Linked DNA regions of Homo sapiens: region 1 is linked to region 2. Evidence: promoter capture Hi-C in human tissues and cell types (Jung and others, 2019). All regions are on one chromosome and are shown on one strand. Each heading gives the region's core, a stretch centred on a gene start or on the middle of the fragment in contact. The rest is flanking DNA. Distances are from core to core; before and after follow the strand shown.

Evidence for each region. The method cuts DNA at HindIII sites, captures the fragments that hold promoters and counts their contacts. A contact is called where the count stands out against the background at its distance.
Region 1: a fragment that was not itself captured here is called in contact with the fragment with the promoter of ASF1A in region 2 in 1 of the 25 tissues and cell types used here (lymphoblastoid cells).

Annotation. Positions count from the first base shown.
Region 1 is chr6:117,765,710-117,770,730 of GRCh38, forward strand. No RefSeq gene overlaps it. Among named protein-coding and RNA genes, the nearest start is that of NUS1, 93 kb to the left of the region's middle. The HindIII fragment of the contact is 3,703 bases long and covers 1,319-5,021 here.
Region 2 is chr6:118,892,403-118,897,021 of GRCh38, forward strand. ASF1A (anti-silencing function 1A histone chaperone) reads left to right here and starts at 1,750. Exons shown (of 4, transcript NM_014034.3): 1 at 1,750-2,120. The coding sequence starts at 2,012. All of the region lies in intron 8 of MCM9 (minichromosome maintenance 9 homologous recombination repair factor), which reads right to left. RefSeq lists silencers at 1,485-1,624, 2,415-2,944 and an enhancer at 1,945-2,034. The HindIII fragment of the contact is 10,588 bases long and covers 1-4,619 here.

The DNA.
Region 1 (5,021 bases), core at 1,920-4,419, 1.1 Mb before region 2:
AAACCCACAAATTTTTAAAAGTTAAAATTATATCAAATATCTTTTCTGACCACAATGGAATAAAACTAGAAATCAATAACAGAAGGAACATTAGAAACTGTACAAATCTGTGGAAGTTAAACAACATACTCCTGACAACAAATGAGTCAATGAAGAAATTAAGAAGGCAATTAAAAAATTTATTGAGACAGATAGAAATGAAAGTAAAACGTAGCAAAACCGATTGGATACAACAAAGGACTTCTAAAAGGGAAGTTTATGGCAATAAATACCTAAAACATCAGAGTAGTAGAAAGACTTCAAATAAACAACATAATGATACACCTCAAGTAACTGGAAAAGGAAGAAAACACCAAACCCCAAATTAGTAAAAGGAAATAAATAATAAGTATTAAAGTAGAAATAAATGAAGTTGAAACTAAGAATAATACAAAAGATCAACAAGACAAAAATTTTGTTTTTTTTTTTGAAAAACAAAGTTAACAAACCTTTAGCCAGACTAAGAAAAAAAGACACAAATAAATAAAATCAGAGATGAAAAAGGAGACATTACAATGAAAACCAGAGGTGAAAAAAGGAGACATTACAATGAATTCAAAGGATCATTAGACTATTATGAACACTTGTACACCAACAAATTGGAAAACCCTTTTGCTATGTGATGTGCCTACTCCTGCTTCACTTCTGACATGAGTAAAAGCTTCTTGTGGCCTCCCTAGAAGCAGATGCTGCTATGCTTCCTGAATAGCCTGCAGATACATGAGCCAATCAAACCTCTTTTTTTAATAAATTACCCCGTCTCAGGTATGTCTTTACAGCAATGCAAGTTCAGCCAAATACAGCCAATAGCAAACAATCTGAAGAACATAACAAGAAAGCAGTTTGGCATGGTGGCTTATGCTTATAATCCCAGGACTTTGGGAGGCCAAGGAAAGGGGATCACTTGAGGCCAGGAGTTTAAGACCAGCCTGGACAACATAGTGAGATGCTTTCTCTACAAAAAATACAAAAATTAACTGAGCATGGTGACATTGCCTGTAGCGCCAGCTACTCAAGAGAGCGAGGCAGGAAGATGGCTTGAGCCCAGAAGTTCAAAGCCACAATGAGCTATGATCACACAACTGGACTCTAGCCTGGGCAACAGAGCAAGACCCTGTCAAAAACAAACAAACAAACAAAAACAGAAAAGAAATCAAAAAAGCAATCCCATTTAAAATACCTACAAAGAAAAGAAAATATCAAGGAATCAATTTAACCAAAAGGGTAACATAACTCTACAAGGAAAACTATAAAAAAGCTGATGACAAAAATTGAAGAGACTCAAAAAAAAAGAAAGAGAAAAAAAGTTCCATACTACCTAAAGCAATCTACAGATTCAATTCCTGTGAAAATACCAATGACATTCTTCACCAAAATAGAAATAACAATTCTAAAATTTGTATAGAACCACGGAAGACCCTGAATAGCTCAATCTTCAGCTAAAAGAATAAAGCTGGAATCATCACACTACCTAACTTCAGAATATACTACAAAGCTACAGTAACAAAAGCAGCATGGTAGTAGCATAAAAACAGACACATACAACAATGGAACAGAATAAATAACCCAGAAATAAATCCACACATTTATAGCCCACTTATTTTTGACAAATGCATCAAGAACATACATTAGGGAAAGGAGAGTCTCTTCAATAAATGGTGTTGGGTGAACTGGATATTACTCAGATTTGATCATTATGCATTGTATGCTTGAATGAAAATACCACATGTGCCCTATAAATATGTGCAATTATTTATGTATCAATAAAAAACAAAGAGTATTTTAAAAATACATCTGGGTGCCAAAATTCATAACAAAAAGTTATGATTCTGTATATAAGCATGATGTTCATTATTTTAGTATTTCTGCACAAAGGACTTTTCTAACTTGTTGCAAGCTTTCATTAGGAGTAGAATTATAGCCATTGTATTTATTTTTCTTGTTTTGTTTTTATGGCTAGGCACATGATTTAGGGAAAATTTACTTGGAGAAATCACATATCTGTTACATATGCTACATGAAATAGGGAGGACCGAATTCTTTCATCAGAGTACAGAAATTGATTAGACATATACATCCCTACCTCATAGGAGAGGAAAGCTTTATTTGGTGTATCCTGAGACTATTCAAGTATGGAGCTTCTGGAGCGAAGGATTCATTGTACTTCTCAGTTACTAGATGAAGATTCTCATATTGACACTGCACATCTTCATGCAACTCTTTGGGCTGCTGGAATGCTCAGAAGTAAATTTAGATTTTACTTCTATTGAGCATTTTTATAAACTCTTCATATTATAATTTTTAGCCTTATTTTTCATTAAACTCAATTTCTTTTGACTATATCACTTGGGCGCTCTTGCCAATCTTGAGTTCTGCCAGTGGGAGACTACAGAACATTAAACTGGTGGAAGGAAAAATGGAACATTTTCCCTGCTCCTTACCCACTTGGGCCTGCATTTATGCTGGTGCCAGCATCCATCCACATTTGTACCTCCTGTTGAGAGGGAGGCCCTTCCCCCACAACTCTAGCTTTCACTAGATTCTGATAGCCCTACTCGCTCTTGCTCCTTCAGGTCTGGGAGTGGTGCTGGCTTTCTGCTCTTGCCAGTGTCTGAGTGCAATATCCCTTATTGGTTTCCCTTATTGATTAGGGAATAACCAATATGTGAAAACCAATTGGTCCTGGCTTCCTGCTCTTGCCAGTGAGTGCAGTATCCCTTATTGGTTTCCTCGGCCCTCTGCACACATGGGAGGAGTAGCGGGGTAGTCTTTTAATTAATATTTTTTGAATTATCAGAGTTGGACTCAGTTTCCTATTAGGTACCTGACTGATACCCACCCCTTCCTCAAAGACATTTTACTGCCCTCTATTGAAACCTTTCATAAGCAATTGTATACATGTATCTCCAGTGTGAACTGTGCCACTTAGATGTGGGTTGGAGTAAACAATCCAAAGCACAGCAAAATGAGAGGGACAGAAGTTTTAACTTAATAAGGGGAATCCATCCTCCATACCTCTATAAAGGAACACCAAAGCCTCTCCACTTAGTCTCAGAGTGTCACCTGCGTATGCTTCCTCATTCTCAAAGTTTCTCTCTTCAGTCCTTTCTCTCGTCCTCACTCAGCAGCTTCTTTCAGTTTTTCTCATTGAGTATTTTGTCTCTCCCTTGGGAAACTCCACCCTTCACCAAGTAGAGTTGTCCAAGCCACAGTCCTTTCGTGTGTCTGGTAAGTTCCACCTCAGATTTAGCAGGAAAGAAATGTTAGGGGTTTTTCTTCTCCAAAGAATATGCTGACTCTGAAGAGAGGAGAGTTGAGTTCTGATCCAACAAGCATGGGGTTGGAGTTCCAGATAGAGGTGGACAGTGAATGCCTTTATTCTAGCTTGGGTTTCCACAAGGTATATGGCTGTGATCAGTTGTTTCTCAATTAGACAAGGGTATCATCGTGAAGAAAATTAATTTTTTCTGGAGACGACATTGTATATTCTCACCCAGTGATTATATTTCTTCTATTAACAGTATTTTAACCCTATTCCTTGCATACACACACACACAACCAAGTATTGTTGTATTAAGCTAGCATTATTTTCTTAGGTTTTCATGATATAGAAACCTACCTTTAGCGAAGTTGCTGAATAATCTGGGCTGGGTGGTGCCATGTTCAAATAGTTTTTCCTGATTGCCAATCTCAGATACCCACCTTATAATGCAATCACAGATTGTGCTAATTCAGTGTAAAATACTCTTAAAGTACCTTGATGCATGTGTCGATTAAGTTAATGGTTCTCAGCTGGGACCAATTTTACTTCACAGGTGATGCTGGCGATTGAAAACATTTTGGAATGTAACTGAGGGGAAGAGGTTATTACTAGAGGACAGAGGCCAGGAATGGTCCTAAACATCCTACAACGCACAGGACAGGCTCACATAACAAAGAATTATCCAGTTCAAAACTCCCCTCAGGGAGCTTTCATCCGTGTTTTGATTAGGGAGGTAAAATCACTAAGACTTACTTTTGGACATGTCCTTATGGGATTGTGCTCTGATTTGAAGCAGAACCACTTCTGTGGATAAAAGGCCAAAGTGTCCTCATTTTCCAAATTTCTCCCTTACAATGACTCACACACACACTCATTCACTCAGAGGAAATCAAGATAAAGAGCAAGAAGCTTCAAAATCTCAGCCTGACAGAGGGTGTGTGATGAAGGTTAGGGTTCAATTTGCTCCCTTCATCTTGGAGACAGGGAGGCAAGTTTGGACAGTACTGGTATTAGAAGGAATTCCTTCCTACTCCTCTCCCTTCTTCACTCATATCTGGCCTCACTGGCAGGGTTTCCAGATAAAATATAGGATGTCCTGCTGTCTTAGCTTAAGCTGCCATAACAAAATACCACGGATTAGGTGGCTTAAACAACACACATTTATTTCTCACAGTTTTGGAGGGTGGGAAGTCCAAAAGGAAGGTATCGGCAGGTTTGGTTCCTGGTGAGGGCTGTCCTTCTGGCTGCCAGGTGCCCACGTTATCACTGTGTCTTCACATGGCCTTTCCTTGGTGCATGGCTGTGGAGAGACCCCTCTCTCTCTCTCCATATAAAGCCACCAATCCCATTAGACTAGGATCCCACCTTTATGTCCTTATTTAATTACCGTCTAAAAGTTCTATCTTCAAAGATAGTTACAGTATGGGTTAGAGCTTCAACATACGAACTTTAGGGAGAACACATTTCAGTCTGTAGCACCAGTTAAATTTGAATTACAGATAAACAACAAATAATTTACTGGGCATACTTATATTAAACATTATTCATTGTTAATCCAACATGTAAAATTTAATTGGAAATCCTGTATTTTTATTGGCTAAATCTGCCAAACCTCTTCCCTGGGCCATTAGCTGGCATTGGCAACACAGACCCTGTTCTAGGATCAAAAACACAGGAGGAATGTGATGGATTCCAGAGTCACATTTCTACAGGATAGGTC
Region 2 (4,619 bases), core at 500-2,999:
CTCATTGTAACACTTACGGTCAGACTGCAAAATGCACGTGATTTTAACAAGCATAAAATGTCGTTTTCATGAGACTGACTAGACTCTCCTCTTAAGAGTACCTGTAATAATCAGACAACTGCATACACCAGTCTCACAGGAGTTTTAATCTTCAAATGGTCATTTTATCTTACATATACAGAGTGTCTTACAGCATACAGCAATTTCCACTTTATCTGCTAGTGTTAGGACCAGCACTAATAAGAATGAAGAGTATGTTGTTTATCAGCCACAAAAATCTGTGTCTATCACCATGGTTTGACTCTTAATACTCTAATGTCACAAACAACTGGCTTGAAGAAGTGTTTTTTGGTAGGTCCTATATCTAACTGTTCAATCCACTGACAAAAAAAGGGAACTCTTCCCCACTCTAACCGGTTTTCCTAAATGTACGAGGGGTTGACATTAGCTGTCTCACATTAACTTTCAAAAGACCATCAGATGAAAACGTTTCATCAAAAGCCACCTACTTAAGTATGAACAATGACCAAAGAATGACAAATCAAAATTCTGGGCACTATACTAAGAGAAAACTCTTCCAGAACACATACTTAAGAATTAATTTTCTCTCTGAATTTGGCCAAGTTTGGTGGTTTCATTCACAACATTTAAGGAAAAAAATGATGGTTTATGGCTAGCAGATAATAAAACAAACCTTTATACCACTTACTAAATAGAAACGGTTTAGGCTCACAAATATGTTAAAGCTTTCTCTTTCCCCGCAATGGTAGCCAAGCAGCATAAACGAATCAACATTTCCTCAGTTCAGACCTCAACTGGTTACAGGCAAGCAAGGGCTCCTCAGAATTTGCTTTACTAACGGTTTAGGTCAGAAATTTTTTTGAAGATCAAATGTCTTGCTATGTCTTTGTGTTCTTTTTCCCATCTCTATTACGTTTGTTGCCCTGTTGGTCTCCTAACACTTCCATTTTCTCCTTTTATGTTCCTGCTATGCTCTCCAAATGGCAGTAACCTGAAGTATAACTGATCACACCTCTTGTGATTTTTTTTTATTCTAGGACTTCCCAGATCTGGACTCCGAAGAAGACGCCCAGGTGCAAGCCCAAAGGTTACCTATTTAAATTTTCCAAGCACAGTGTGTAGAAAATCATTCCTCGCCCTTCATTTTGTGTTGCTTAACGGCGCTGTCGTGCCTAAACGTAGATACTGGCCAAGAGCTAGATTTCCAAAATGGCTTTGCTCCTTTCGAGCTGACATCGGTCTATAACATGCAATTTATTTCCCCTGCAGCCAATCTTTCTCTCTACTCCAAATACTACCCGATACGCAGAAAGCTGAACCTAACCCAGTGTAAACACCGACTCTCATCTGCTAAATTCAGCAAGGCCGGCAAAGCTGTTGCACTGATGTAAAAAGAGCGTTAAATCAAAAAACCAAAAAAACAAAAAAAAAAACAAAAAAACGCCAAAACACCCACACGAAGCCAACTGGAGGGGCGGGCGTCGGCCGGATCGCGCCCTCCCGCCGCAGCCACGCCTCCCCGCCGCGGCCACGCCCCCTCCGCCCCTCTCCGCGCCGCCGCCGGCGGCCTCCGCGCGGGCCTCCCAGCCCTTATTCCACTCACTTTGTTCTCCGCCTTTGTCCTAATCCACACCAGCAGGTGGAGCCGCAGTTAAAGTTTCCGAGTCCATTCCGGGAGCGGGAGCCCATCTTGCTGGCTGCCGAGGCCCTCGCTGGAGGAGGAGGGTCAGAACTCGGGTGCAGCCAATCGAGGGCAACGCTGCTACTTATCAGAGCAGAATGGGCTGTAGTTTAGTGAAATAGGAAAGCTGCAAAACACTGTGGAGTGCTCCCGTGTAAATAAAAAGAGGAAAAAAGTTTCTCAAGTCGCCGCTGCACGACGTCTGGCCGGCGCTGGAGCGGGGGTCTGCGCTCTCCCGAGCGGCCGCGCGCTGGACTTTATTGTGCCGCAACCAGCCCCAGTTCCCATTGTTTGTGTTTTTTTCAAAATATGGCAAAGGTTCAGGTGAACAATGTAGTGGTGCTGGATAACCCTTCTCCTTTCTACAACCCGTTCCAGTTCGAGATCACCTTCGAGTGCATCGAGGACCTGTCTGAAGGTGAGTGCGGCGCCCGTGCGCCCGGGCTGTCAGTTGCGGGCTGCAGACGTTGAAAGTTTCCCGGGCCGGGCCTCGCGCTGGGCGGCTGTGTTCGGCGCCTGGCGGCCGCGGGCTGCTCTGCGGAGGGAAACTTGAAGTTGATGGACGACGGCCGCCGAGGCGCGCGCGGCTTTCCGCCGCAGCCCAGGCGCCTGCCGGGCTCAACTTGCGAGGAACTTGTTTGAGCGGAGGAGCGGAGGTAGCCATGTTGTCAGCTTTGTCTGCGGGCGGGCAGCTCGGAGACCCGCACTCGCTCCCGCTGCGCCGCCTGAGGTCGCGCCGGGCTGGCTCCGCGCCGCCAACAGCCTCCGCGACCCTCCGGGCCCGAGCACGGAGGCTGGGAAGGGAGAGGCTGTGCGTGTGGTCGCGCCGGCGAGTTCGGAGCGGAGCCATCTTACCCCGAGTCGAGAATTGGGCCAGCGACCCCGGCGCACGGCGCCTCCTCTTGCCCCGCCGCCCGCCTGCCCCCGGCGAAAGGCAGGCAGGCACTCTCGAGAGCTCACGGTGGAGTCGCCGCACTCTCCGGGCTGGCCATGCCTGGCCGCTTCGGGGAGGAGAGCGAGGCTGTCCTCGCGCTGATTTCTGGCTTCCTCGACCAACCAGCGGGGGAGGCGGGCGCAGGCTCGGCCCCTCCGCGCCGCGGGCTGGGCGCCGGCGCTCCCCGGGGGCCGTGGGTCCTGTTCGGCCGGTCCTCCTCGGCCGGCGCCCGGGATGCGCCGGGATGCTGGCGCGCAGGCTCCCCAACCAACGTGGACTCCTTTCCCCTAATGACGAAAAGCTAATTTCAGGAAGAGAAATAGAGCTGAGGTAGGAAGTTACATTTAACCTAAAAGCAGAAATAAGATACTTAAATAATTTCCAGGACTTAATCTCTGCCTTATAAATAGTCTGAAGGAAGACTTTCTTCAAGACCGTGTTGAAATCTAAAATAACTCCACATCCAAATACAGAACACACCCTAAACATAAAACACAAACGTAGGCTAGGAAATTAAGGTCAACTCCTCATGTCAGTCCAAGAATTCTTGGTATTTTTTCTACATATATTTTAAGGTCTTAAAAATACGTATTTTTAATATCTTTAGTAATAAATATTTAGAAAGCTAAAACGACAATTATCTTTGCTTTAATTATCTTTTACTAAAGTAATTCAGTGCTTCATTTGCCAGTTTTGAAGGGGAAATAGTTTAACTTCATCGATGAGGGACATACTTTGAACTAGAAGTATATGTAAAAAATGCATTGAAGATGATTTAGGTAATCGTGGCATGTAAAACTTTTCATTTTAAAAACTAGTTTTTAATCTCTAAAATGTATATATCATATGTAAGGTTAATTTTAATTATAAAACAATATATATTCATTGTAATAAACTTTTAGAAAGTTGTACAGGCATATATAAAGTTAACAGTTCTCTGTACTCAGTGCCTTGCCCTATCTCCTTTCGGTAATCACAATTATTACTTTAACATGTGCCCCCGTTTTTTTTTTTTTTTTAAACCTATATAGAGCATAAATGCACATACATATATAGGGCAAATTTTGAAAGATGATTCATTTATTAAAATAATTTCAAATAGGCCATTGATAACACTAAGGGGTATTTTTCTTATTACTCTGAAGTCATTTGATTACTCTCCTATGATACTACTATTAATATAAGCATTGCAGCTACCAGGCCCATTTTTCACACCCAACAGTAATTTTTTTTTTATTGCCAACTGCATATAAAAATAGACAAAAGAAAAACCATTGATCGGTCCATTCCAACTTATACCACACTGTTTTTCAGATATACCACCAGAAGTTCTTCAAATTACAGGTATTTCTCAAGTGTTGCCTTCCATTTTAGGAGTCAGCTCTGAACAAAGAAGATAGATGACTCAGGATGTCGTTACAGGGCTTTTACATTGCATAGATGAAACCAGCCATTCATAAAGCCAAAACGTTCCATTTTTAACTGGGATCCATTCAGAACCCAGCTGAATCACATCAGGGATTTACAGTACTGGTGTCAAAAACATACTTATTTCCAATGGTATATTTCACTTCCTAGGCACCATTACTGAGCATTTATTTAGTATTTTAAAAAATATTTTAAGCTGAGTCATACTGAAGCTGCAAAGGAATCTTTCAAAAAGGTGCCATGCCTGTATACTCCACCTAGAGGCTATGTGGATTAAGGAAATTTTTACTTAGCAAAGGCTTCTAATAGGTTCCATACTTTTATATTACAGTTCTTTTAAAAATTCTGTTCTTAAAATTAAACTATAGAATTTTTTTTTTTTTAAATGAGACAGTGTTGCTCTGGCACTCAGGCTGGATGGAGTACAGTGGTGCAAACACAGCTGCTCCCTGCAGCCTCAACCTGGGCTTAAGCAATCCTCCCACCTTAGCCTCCTGAATAGCTGGGACCATAGTCGATGTGCCACCACATTGGGCTAATTTTTTAATTTTTTGT